4 separate regions of the Homo sapiens genome follow, and all the other regions are linked to region 4. The links are contacts of gene promoters, found by promoter capture Hi-C in blood cells and fetal thymus (Javierre and others, 2016). All regions are on one chromosome and are shown on one strand. Each heading gives the region's core, a stretch centred on a gene start or on the middle of the fragment in contact. The rest is flanking DNA. Distances are from core to core; before and after follow the strand shown.

Evidence for each region. The method cuts DNA at HindIII sites, captures the fragments that hold promoters and counts their contacts. A CHiCAGO score of 5 or more calls a contact.
Region 1: a fragment that was not itself captured here is called in contact with the fragment with the promoter of VSIG4 in region 4 in 7 of 17 cell types (monocytes, total B cells, neutrophils and 4 more); the score reaches 8.1 in monocytes.
Region 2: a contact is called between a fragment that was not itself captured here and the fragment with the promoter of VSIG4 in region 4, in 2 of 17 cell types (neutrophils and monocytes). The highest score is 10.2, in neutrophils.
Region 3: a contact is called between a fragment that was not itself captured here and the fragment with the promoter of VSIG4 in region 4, in 2 of 17 cell types (neutrophils and monocytes). The highest score is 6.2, in neutrophils.

The regions. Positions count from the first base shown.
Region 1 is chrX:65,783,530-65,786,229 of GRCh38, forward strand. No RefSeq gene overlaps it. Among named protein-coding and RNA genes, the nearest start is that of MSN, 120 kb to the left of the region's middle. The HindIII fragment of the contact is 168 bases long and covers 1,278-1,445 here.
Region 2 is chrX:65,902,014-65,904,713 of GRCh38, forward strand. No RefSeq gene overlaps it. Among named protein-coding and RNA genes, the nearest start is that of MIR223HG, 110 kb to the right of the region's middle. The HindIII fragment of the contact is 4,674 bases long and covers 1-2,700 here.
Region 3 is chrX:65,828,146-65,830,845 of GRCh38, forward strand. No RefSeq gene overlaps it. Among named protein-coding and RNA genes, the nearest start is that of MSN, 160 kb to the left of the region's middle. RefSeq lists a silencer at 766-978. The HindIII fragment of the contact is 1,431 bases long and covers 679-2,109 here.
Region 4 is chrX:66,038,654-66,041,353 of GRCh38, forward strand. VSIG4 (V-set and immunoglobulin domain containing 4) reads right to left here and starts at 1,427. Exons shown (of 8, transcript NM_007268.3): 1 at 1,291-1,427. The coding sequence starts at 1,345. The HindIII fragment of the contact is 1,000 bases long and covers 924-1,923 here.

The DNA of each region.
Region 1 (2,700 bases), core at 112-2,611, 260 kb before region 4:
TTCAGAAGCTCTTTCCCTTGGGACCCCCAAATATAAAACAAAAACAAAACACACAAAGCACAACCACAGGTTCTTTGAGGAAAACAAAACAAAACCAACTCCAATGTTCCATCTCGAAGCCAGAATCAGCCCCTTGGAAGTTTGTAAAGCAACTGTGTAAGCTGCTTCACCAATTTCTTCTGTTAGAATGTTCCAGGTCCTGGAACCCTGTCGATGGGACCCACTCACTGATATTGCTTGAAAAAGTTATTCACTTCCAGTTCTACAAGCAGCCCCACTCTCCTGAGCCAAAGCTGGTCAAAAGTGTTTTCAACTTCAAGAATTTCTGTGCAATTCTCTCTTCATTGATCCTCTCCACTCCCAAAGTCATGAATATACAGACGTGTAAAATCACTCCCCCAACCACAAAGTTTGTGAACACCCACTTTTTCCTCTCTAGATTTCTCAGTTTAGGACACTGTGGTTAAAATACATACACTAGAAAGAAAATACACATTCAAACTCATTTCCCCTAGTTCTCATGGCCCAAATATTTTTCAATGCAGAAGATAATGAAGTTGAACCTCAAAAGCAGTACTTCCTAACTTCCAATCTCTTCTAGAAGGACATAAAAAAGATGGAAATCATGTTATATCGACCATTAGTGTTGGATAGTTTTAAAAGTCTATTTTCATATATAAATGCAATGAACAAGGGGTATAAATCACACCTTTAAACTAGCAAGAGGAAAGAATCTCTTCCCAAATGTTACACTGAGGAATGTTTCTTTAAATGAGAAAGGCCTTAAAATTAACAGATGATCACTATACACAGCCTAAAAATTCCATGACTGTCCAAAGCACCTCAAGGTAACAGCATCAAAGCACTGTGGGTGAAGCTTCTAGGGGAGAGCACCCCTCCTACAGTTTTTTGAGATTACTTAGATGAATTAATTCTCCTTTAGGATTCCCTCGGATGGGGCAGGGACTAGAATAAAATTGACTCGTGAGGAGGGAAATAATGAGGTACAAGTGCATGTGGAATTGTTGAAGTAAGCATGTGAGAGATCACTGCTTATCACCCCAGGGTTATCAAAACAGCCTTGGAAATTGCTCCTTCCTCATAATGCCTCTGAAATTGTAAATCCATCCAAATTTGCTCCCGCTTGAGTGGTTATACTCGGGAAATGAATTATTAAAATGTGCAAGTATTCACATAAATTGAAACATTTCTCCTTTTAGCTGCAAGGCCAAGTGAAAGGAAAACTAATTCTGATCCTAGAAACTAAGGTACGCTGAAGCTTTCAAAGATCCAATCATTTGAATTAGTCTTCACAACCATCAGTATCCTAGGCAGTTATTTGACTGCTAGTCCTTCAGTATGGTGCTTGCGTTCAGTTTCCGAAATCAATTCATATTCTACGCAGCACCTTTGTGTTAAGGCCATAATATTTTACTCCTAGACAAAGCTTTGGATAATCATAAACTCTACTTCAAAACTATGGTCATCCAAGGAAATGCTCTGTCAGTAGAGTAGACCCTTTCCAGCTCCATTAGCTGACACTGTCTTATAGCATGGTCTTGAACAGATTTCTTCAGAGATTCAACCCAGTTCAAATTAAAATAAAAAACCTGAGCTGGTTAGCTACAAATATAGGAGAGAAAAATAAAGCCTCTATACAAACAGGCTTTATTTTATCTAACAAAGAAGAATGTTAAGACAAATTCTATTCAAGAAATCCACCAACATTATGTTAATCCTATCATGTTTCACAACATTAAGTATCCATCCAATGAAATCAGTCTGCAAAGAAACCCTTAAAGGCTATTTTTCATTGCACAGGCAGAGCAGTTGTCTGAAATATGCACTAGTCCACACTTACATTACTGAAAACTATGGAGGAGATAATATCCTGTGATTGACTCAGTCAACCATTTACCCAGTGGAGTAAGTTTTAGCAGATCTTGCTCATACATACTAATAAGACCAAAACTTTCCCCTGTGGAGCCTTTAGTTAAACTCTAGTTTGTCAAATGTTAGGAATAGTCTAGTATCTGATACAGAGCTATATTTGACGAGACACTGAAGATTTTAAGTAAAGGCTTGGTGAAATGGAGGGGAAAAAAAGGATATTTGTTTCCAGGTTTAAGATTGAAGCCAAAGTAGTCATTATACTGTATTCAATACAGTAACAATTGCAAACATTATAAGAGCAAAGTGGGCCTCACTTTTTCTTTCTTCTTCAGTATATAAGACGTGGTGCCTGAATACTTGAACGTACATAGTACATTCATCATGTACCACAGAGAGAGTCACATCTACTTCATTCCAGTAACTCAGTTTCGAAGTTTAATAACACATGGGTCCTTTCTAAAAAGCACTTGGCACTCTCACTAGTTTAAAAATCTCAAGTCTTTGATGTGGATATTTCTGAGATTTGTCTTAAAAGAGACCAATTTCTCAGACTCAGGAAAGGCTATTCCTACCCTATGGTATCCATAAGACTTCCTCTGACATGGGGGCAAGGAAGCTACAAGGCTTCACTCCGACACCATAAAGTACAATATAGGGAAGATTTCTTTAACCATGTGGTCTTTATTTCAGTGCCAGTGTTAACAGATACAACACAAATGCTCCAGTCAGAAGGAATTCAAATGGAATGCCAAGGTCCAAGCAAGGCTCAGAAATAAAAAGAGAGGTTTGGAGTAATAGATAAGATGA
Region 2 (2,700 bases), core at 142-2,641, 140 kb before region 4:
GTCCCAGTGAATATGCCACACTCCCAGAAACTTTCCAATGGCTCAGTTGGCATGAATTTCTTTCGTCTACATGACCATCACACTTTACCTATAATTGTCAAGAAACTTTATCAATTCGTCCTTGTGACTAGATCTCTTACTACACTGTAAGATCCTTGTGTCTAAATTACCGCTGGATCCCCAGTGCTTGGCCCAATGCCAAATAAAGAATAATACAAACACAGTAAATGCTTAATGAAATGCATTGTGCTATGTGACCTTGGAAAAATCTCTTTTCTTCTCTGGGGATCCAGAAATAATTTAGACACTGTCACTGCTAATGATTTCCTCTGTGACACTGAGTCTCCCCTCACCACCTCACCTTCATCATAACCATGCCCTATTTCTCTTTACCTTATGAGTTGCCAAATAAATAAAGGCTTTAATTCCTGTTTGAAAGCAGCAGACCTTTCCCTGTTCTTCCACACTTGTAGATGCTAATAGCTACTACTGCCTCAGTGTGGATTAATTTTGATTTCTTCTTTAGCTTATGAGAGTTGAAGAGAGGGATAGAACAAGATATTCTTGAGTACTTAGAATTGTGGGTAGACAGCAAATCCTGACACTAAAGTGAGAGAAAGTACAGATTTTGAAGCTGGGACCAAAGTTTTAACCAACTTGGCAGAATGGCCCCAGGTCAGGGATGCGTGTAGAGAATGCTGGGAGCAGAGGATGCTGATTTTGAAGTGACTGCTTGGGATGGAGAGGTAACTTAAACTGGAAGCCTTTCCAGGGTGCTCAGGCATAAGATAGCTATCACCCCTGTCCTAGAGCATGTGGACTGTGGCCTGGCTATCAGTGAGCTCATCAGATTGGCTCAGGGAAGGGGACCTGTCCAGGAGGCAAACATAAAGAGGAAATTTCGAGATGAGCTCATCTTGAGGCCAAAAAATAAAAATGAAAAAAATACCAGAGGCACTAAATGGGCAATGAACTAAAGAAACCCAATCTCATAGAAAATCAGATTGTTGGCTGGGTGCGGTGGCTCATGCCTGTAATCCTAGCACTTTGGGAGGCTTAGGGGTGTGGATCATGAGGTCAGGAGTTCAAGACCAGCTTGGCCAACATGATGAAACGCTGTCTCTACTAAAAAATACAAAACAATTAGCTGGGCACGGTGGCGGGCACCTGTAATCCCAGCTACTCGGGAGGCTGAGGCAGGAGAATCACTTGAACCCGGGAGGCAGAGGTTGCAGTGAGCCGAGATCATGCCACTACACTCTAGCCTGGGCAACAGAGGAAGACTCCGTCTAAAAAAAAAAAAGAATACCAGTTTGTTAAAACTTAAAGGTAATTTAGGCTTCACTGGGTCCACTGCCACAGCCACATTTTGGACTGAGGTTCCTGGCACCAACTGGTGACAGCAAGGCAGGGCTCCAAACTTAAAAGAAGAAGATACTAGGCAAGTGCTTGAATCAAGGGACTCATATTCTTGATAGGAAACAAAGATGGAGCACAGAGAAAGAAATATTTATTTTGCAAGGCACCATGCTGGCTATTATTATGATATACATTGTGCTGGCTATTTTATAAATGCCAATATAAGAAGAAAAAAAAGTTCTCATATTTTAACAACACATGAGGAAACTGAGGCTTAGAGAGGGGAAGCAACTTGTTGGAGGTCAGTCAGGTTGTGGTGTATCACAGCTTAGAGCCTAGCTCCCATCATTCCCAAGTTTCCTCAGGTTTCTTCTGCTTCTATTTCCTTGATCTTATCTTGTTTGTGTATTAGAGGGTGGAAATGCCTTCTGTGATTGCAGGTGCTGCCTTTTCTTACCTTGGTTTTTGTAGTTGCTGGCAGCCCAGCAGAGACTCTAGTTTGGGGGAAGATATATAGGGCAATTACGTGCATGTGAGTATGTTCTGTTCCTCCTAGCTCTCAAGATATTGCTGACTAAGCTGTGTGCCTAGATCTTTGAAAACTTTTTTAGCAGGTGAGAGTCCCCTTCCTGAGGTTGGAGCACTGCTCAAAAGCCTAGTGGGAAAGGGACTCATGTGTTTACAGATTCCCTTTGCTGCAGGGGTCAGAGGGAAAGCCAGAGCACTATGGGGCCAAAGGGAAAGCTGGCTGTTCATGTCCTCTGCTCCATCCTGCACCAGAAGCCACCTACCCATGAGGGTTGAAATTAATGAAAATGTAGCCAATATTTTCAATTAGGTCCAGTGTTATTTAAACTTCATTCATTCAAATTGAGTGCAGAGAATCAAGGTCATAGATCCTGGAAAAATTGTGACATATGCAGTCTTATCTGTTCATCTCTCCTCTACCACTTAGCAATTGTGTGGCTTTGGACAAGTCAGTTCTTATTTTCTTCATGTGTAAAATCCTGAATAGGAAGGGTTGGGGAAGGTTGGAATGAATCATCTCCAGATATATAATAATCTTAAAACCAAAGAGTTTTAGTACTACATAATCAAAAAAATTATAATCCTATAATTCTAAACCTACAAACCTATAACTTATAATTTCAAAATCAAGTGTGTCTTCCTTTCCTCTTGTCCTATATTGATCTTTTGTCCTATTCTCAGGACAAAAGATTCTTAATTGTTTCTCAGTTGAGGTACAAGTTTTCAATTAAATACTGTCATTACAATACTGTCATTATCAGTATTGACCTATAATGAAGGCATCATTTGGATATCTGGAAAGGCAGAAGGAGT
Region 3 (2,700 bases), core at 144-2,643, 210 kb before region 4:
TTTCTGATGTTATCTCACAGGGGTTTTTGGGGAGGGTGCCAGTGAAATTGGGGAAAGATCACAGGGAGAAGGAAACTTCCAGCTGAACTTTGTAATAATTTTGACCAAGCACAAATTTTCCAGGGCAGAATCCGGGAGTGGGGGTGAACAAGAAATGCAGATATGAGCACAGAAGCCACAGTGGGGAGGGGCAAAGCTGAAAGCCCTGTTTGCTTTCTCAGCAAGAAAATCCCTGTTTGCTTTCTCAACAAGGATGCTTGTAGCCTGGCTCAAGTTCCAAGCCCTGCTCACCGGCTGCCTGGATATAAACTTGTGCTGTTGGGGGAGTGTGGCAGAAGTAAGATTGGCCTTTCTGTCTGAGTAGGAGCTGGGTGAGGCCTGTCACTGCTGGCTTTCCCCTACTTCCCTGGTGACCTGTATAACACAACAGAGGCAGCCATAATCCCCTGGGAACATAACATCATCTGCCTGGGAAACACACCCCCATCCCCCATAGTGGCTGCAGCAAGCCCCACTCAAGAAGAGTCTAAGGTTAGATATGCCTAACCCTTTCCCCACCTGATGGTCTTTCTCTACCCACGCTGGTAGCCAAAGACAAGAAACATAATCTCTTGGGAGCCGTATGGCCCCATGCAACACCTAAGAAACCCAAGTACTTATCCAGGCAACCCTAGGGTAAGCTTGTATCCTCTCTATACTACCACAGCTGATGCTCTCTTTTGAAAGTGCCACTTCCTAGCTTGGGAACAACCAACTTAAACCACTACAGCAACTCATAACAGAACAAACCTGCCCCATGAGAAGAGAAATCAACAGCTAATCCCACCGCCTGTAACATCCTGGCTAGCCAGAGGTCCTGAGGCTATCCACATGACAATTTTACAGCCAGCACAACCAGCAGTTGAGAAAAACAGCACACTAAACAAAACTACAGTCAAGGTCCCACACAGAGTCCACTTCACTCCTCTGTTACCTCCGCTGGAGTAGGTGCCTGTCTCCACAACTGAGAAACCTGAAGATGGATCACATCACAGAACTTTTTGCAGACACTCCTCAGTACCAGCCCAGTGCCTGATAGCTCCATTGGTGGATAAACCCAGAAGAGAAATAACAATCATGGCAGTCAGGCTCTCAGGAAGCCCCATCCCTAGAGAAAGGGAGAGAGCATCACAACAAGGGAGCACTCTGTGGGACAAAAAAATATGAACAGTAGCCCTTGAACCCCAAATCCTTCCTCTGATATAGTCTACTTAAATGAGAAGGAACCAGAAAAACAATTCGGGTAATATGTCAAAGCAATGTTCCTTAACACCCCTAAAAGATCACACTAGCTCACCATCAATGGGTCCAAACAAATAATGAAACTTTGAATTGCCAGATGAATAATTCAGAAGGTGAATTATTAAGCTACTCAAGGAGGCACAAGAGAAAGGTGAATACCAACTTAAAATTTTTTTTTAGTGTTAGAGGATATGAATAAAAAATCTCCAGAGAAATAGATAGCACAAATAAAAAACAATCACAACTTCTGGAAATGAAGGACACACTTAGAGAAATGCAAAATGCAAATTAAAGTCTCAATAATAAAATTTAAAAAATAGAAGTAAAAACTTTAGAGCTGGAAGACAAGGTTTTGAATTAACCAAATCTGACAAAGATAAAGAAAAAAGAATTTAAAAAAGTAAACAAATCTTCCAAGAATTTTGAGATTATGTTAAATGACCAAACCTAGGAATAACTGGTGTTCCTGAGGAAGAAGAGAAATCTAAAAGTTTGAAAAAACATATTTGAGGGAATAATTGAGGAAAACTTCCTTGGCCTTGCTAGAGATCTAGACATCCAAATACAAGAAGTTCAAAAACACCAAGAAAATATATTGCAAAAAGATTATTGCCTAGGCACATAGTTATCAGAGTATCTAAAGTCAAGATGAAGGAAAGAATCTTAAGAGCTGTGAGGCAAAAGTATCAGGTAACCTATAAAGTAAAACTAATCAGATTAACAGCTGATTTCTCAGCAGAAATCCTACAGGCTAGAAGGGATTGGGGTCCTATCTTTAGCCTTAAACAAAACAATTGTCAGTCAAGAATTTTGTATTCAGTGAAACTAAGCTTCAAAAATGAAGGAAAGACACAGTCTTTTTCAGACAATGCTGAGAGAATCTGCCGCTACCAAGCCAGAACTACAAGAACTGCTAAAAGGACCTCTAAATCTTGAAACAAAAACTCAAAATACACGAAAATAGAACATTCTTAGTCAAAATACACAAAAATAGAACCTTCTTAGAGCATAAATCTCACAAGACCTATAAAACAATAACACAATAAAAAAAACTGAAAGGTATTCAGGCAACAACTAGCATGATGAATAGAATAGTGCCTCACATCTCAGTACTAATGCTGAATGTAAATGGCCTAAATGCTCCACTTAAAAGATACAGAATAGCATAATGGATAAGAATTCACCAACCAAATATCTGCTTTCTTCAAGAGCCTTACTTAATATATAAGGATTTATATAAACTTAAGGTAAAGGGGTGGAAAAAGATATTCCATGCAAATGGACGCCAAAAGCAGTAGCTATTCTTATATCAGACAAAACAAACTTTAAGGAACAACAGTTAAAAAAGACAAAGAGGGATATTATATAATGATAAAAGGTCTATCACAATCTAAATATATATGCATCTAACACTGCAGC
Region 4 (2,700 bases), core at 177-2,676:
ATGGAAATGTGGTAGTTATAGAAAGAAAAATGTTTTTTCAGGAGCATTAACTCTGCCACTAATGCTCTTTGGCTTGGGGGCAAATTATTTTTTCTCTTGGTTGACTTAATTCAGAGTCTTTTCTAACTCTGAGGTTCCAGAGTGTGATGGGTCACAGAGCCCCAGGATAGGGTAACCTAATCAGAGTCAGCTACGGAAAGCTGGATTCTTTCTGACCTAACAAGTGACACCAAGCTAACACCTATCCAGCCTTTTTCTCTAGGGATGATAGGGAAGCAGCAAAATCCCCCTTTACCCTATATTGGATCTCACTTAGCTGTTACCCAGGTTGAGTTTCCTGAAAATCCATCTCACTTCTCAGGAGTGTAGATGAGGATAGAGCTTCCCAAGCTCCAAGGAAATAATGCCACTATGGAATAGTCCATCCTCCTTTGGGATTTGTATCCAGCCCATAAATAGCCCAGACAAATTGAGCCATGTCTATAGGGAAGTGAGTTATCCCAGGAATGGGTAAGAAACCAAGTCCTATGAAGACCAGTTGAAAAAGCTGGGGCTGTTCAGCTTGGAGGAGAGAAGAGTCAAGGAGACATAGTACTTGTCCTCAGGGCTTTGAAGGGCTATCACAGGGCAAGGAAGCATCTATGTTCTGTGTAGCCCCAAGAAGCAAAGCTGGGGTTTTTGGATGGAAGTCAGAGGGAACTGGATTTAGTTCAACACAAATAAGAACTTTCTAACAGTTGGAGCTGCTCCTGGATGGACTAGATGGTCTGGGGAGGTAGTGAACAGTGAAATCTCAATCACTACTGGATGTTTCTGAGCACTTATTCATGACAATGAAGGGTGGTATAGGTTACTTCTATAGTCCTATCCAACTCTTAGAAAACACTCCTTCTTCGGGGGCTGTATATTTTAACAGAGACCAAAGCTTGGAAGCAGAGTGGTTAAGTCCAATTGTAGAATTTTAGATGAGAGACAGCAGATGGAGGAAAGATTCGGATGTCATTGGGAACCTTCTTGATGCCCCTGAGATACAAGCCCTAGAAAATAATGCAGATGTTTTCCAAGAGAAAAATCCTTTTTCAATTTCTGCCCAAACTTGCCTTCTGGCTTCTTCAGCAGCCTTCAACTACATCCATCCGTTTTGCTCAAGGCTGAGAGAGCCTGCAGAGTTTGGCTGAGAAGACTCACCTGCCCAGTAGGAATAGGCTTTCCATAGTAGACATTAAACACCAACCCTCTAGCCTTTTGCCTAAGCCAGCAATGGCAGCCAGGCCCCCCTTTCTGCCTTACCATAAGTGTCCACTGTTAGGTGCCCCAGGAGTAGCAGGCCCAGTAAGATCCCCATCACAGCCAGAGCTACTTCTGTCCTTTCTTCCAGCCTCCTGCTACCAAAGAGGCTCAAACTTCTGGTGGCCGCCAGCGTCTGTGACTGCTTACTTCCCTTCCTTCCCTATATCTCTCACTCAAACTCCTAGTCCCATCACACATTCCCCTTCCTTCCCTATTTCAGTACAGGTCATGTGGGGTGCCCCCCTTCCCCCACCTCCTTGGGGTTGGAGGTTCCAGGATGAGTGAAGCAATTCTTCCCCCTGCTAGGGTATTGACTTGACTTTCCTTGGAGCCAATGGGGCTTTCTGGTCTTTGATCTCCTAGGCTGTATTTATTTTGAGTCTCCTCCACAAGATTCAGAGGTTGTGGGGGCGACCTTTGGGATGAGTCTTCCCACTCCAGTATGGCGGTGTTTTCCTTTGTGGTGAGCCCAGGGAGAAGAGATCAACTTTGCTGACCTACCCAATTTTCATTAGTTGTACTGTTAACCCTTGCCTGTGCAGCCTATGCAACTGGACAGGGTGTTGGGCCCGGGGTGCTTTTGGGCTTAAGAGTACAAGAGTTTAGTGTATTAAAGGGCTTTCTACACATCAAAGCTTGAATAATTGACAAGCCAATGGATAAGGCTGTTATGGGTGAATATGCCTCATATCTCATATTGGGGAAGCTCTTTGAATCACTTTCTACAATGGCTCCACCTCTCTGATGGTAAGGGAGAATTCATTTTCATTAATGTTCTCCATGCTTTTTCATAAGGAATTTATTTTTTACTTCTTTTAAGGGAAATTTAAGCCTAGCCTCCAGTGCAGCAGCCCATTAGTGGTATGCTGTATTAGGTTGAATTTTTCATTGACTTCCAATTGGTACAGGCCCTTGACCTACAAGAGAGTAATATTATGCCTCCTAGCAAAGCTCAACTGCTCCAGAAATTGCTCCTCTTCACAGGCCCCAGAGTGACTGTAATTTCATCAGCAGTCTAACTAGGTTTGGCACTGCGCTTTGTCTACTAAGCTTTGAAACAATAAGCACTTTCAAAAGCACAAATACATCCCAAAAATTCATACTGCACTGTAAGTAACAGCTAAGCTTAGTTTACTCTTTGATTGGAGGGATAGGAAAGGACTTGGTCAGGGGAGGGAGGAGTTTGTGCAGAGATGGGGAGTGGGAATATAAAGAAACATACTTGCCAAGGGGTGGCTGCATGCAGATGATTTGGAGCTGTGCACGGGCTAAGGAGACATTCCAGCATTTCAGGACACATTATTACATGGAATTCTATCAATCACCTCTGCCTCTAGGGCCCAATCCCCCTTGGCTGGTTGTTCCTTGTTTTTTGAGTACTGCACTCATTCCATCTCACTGGAAATTTCA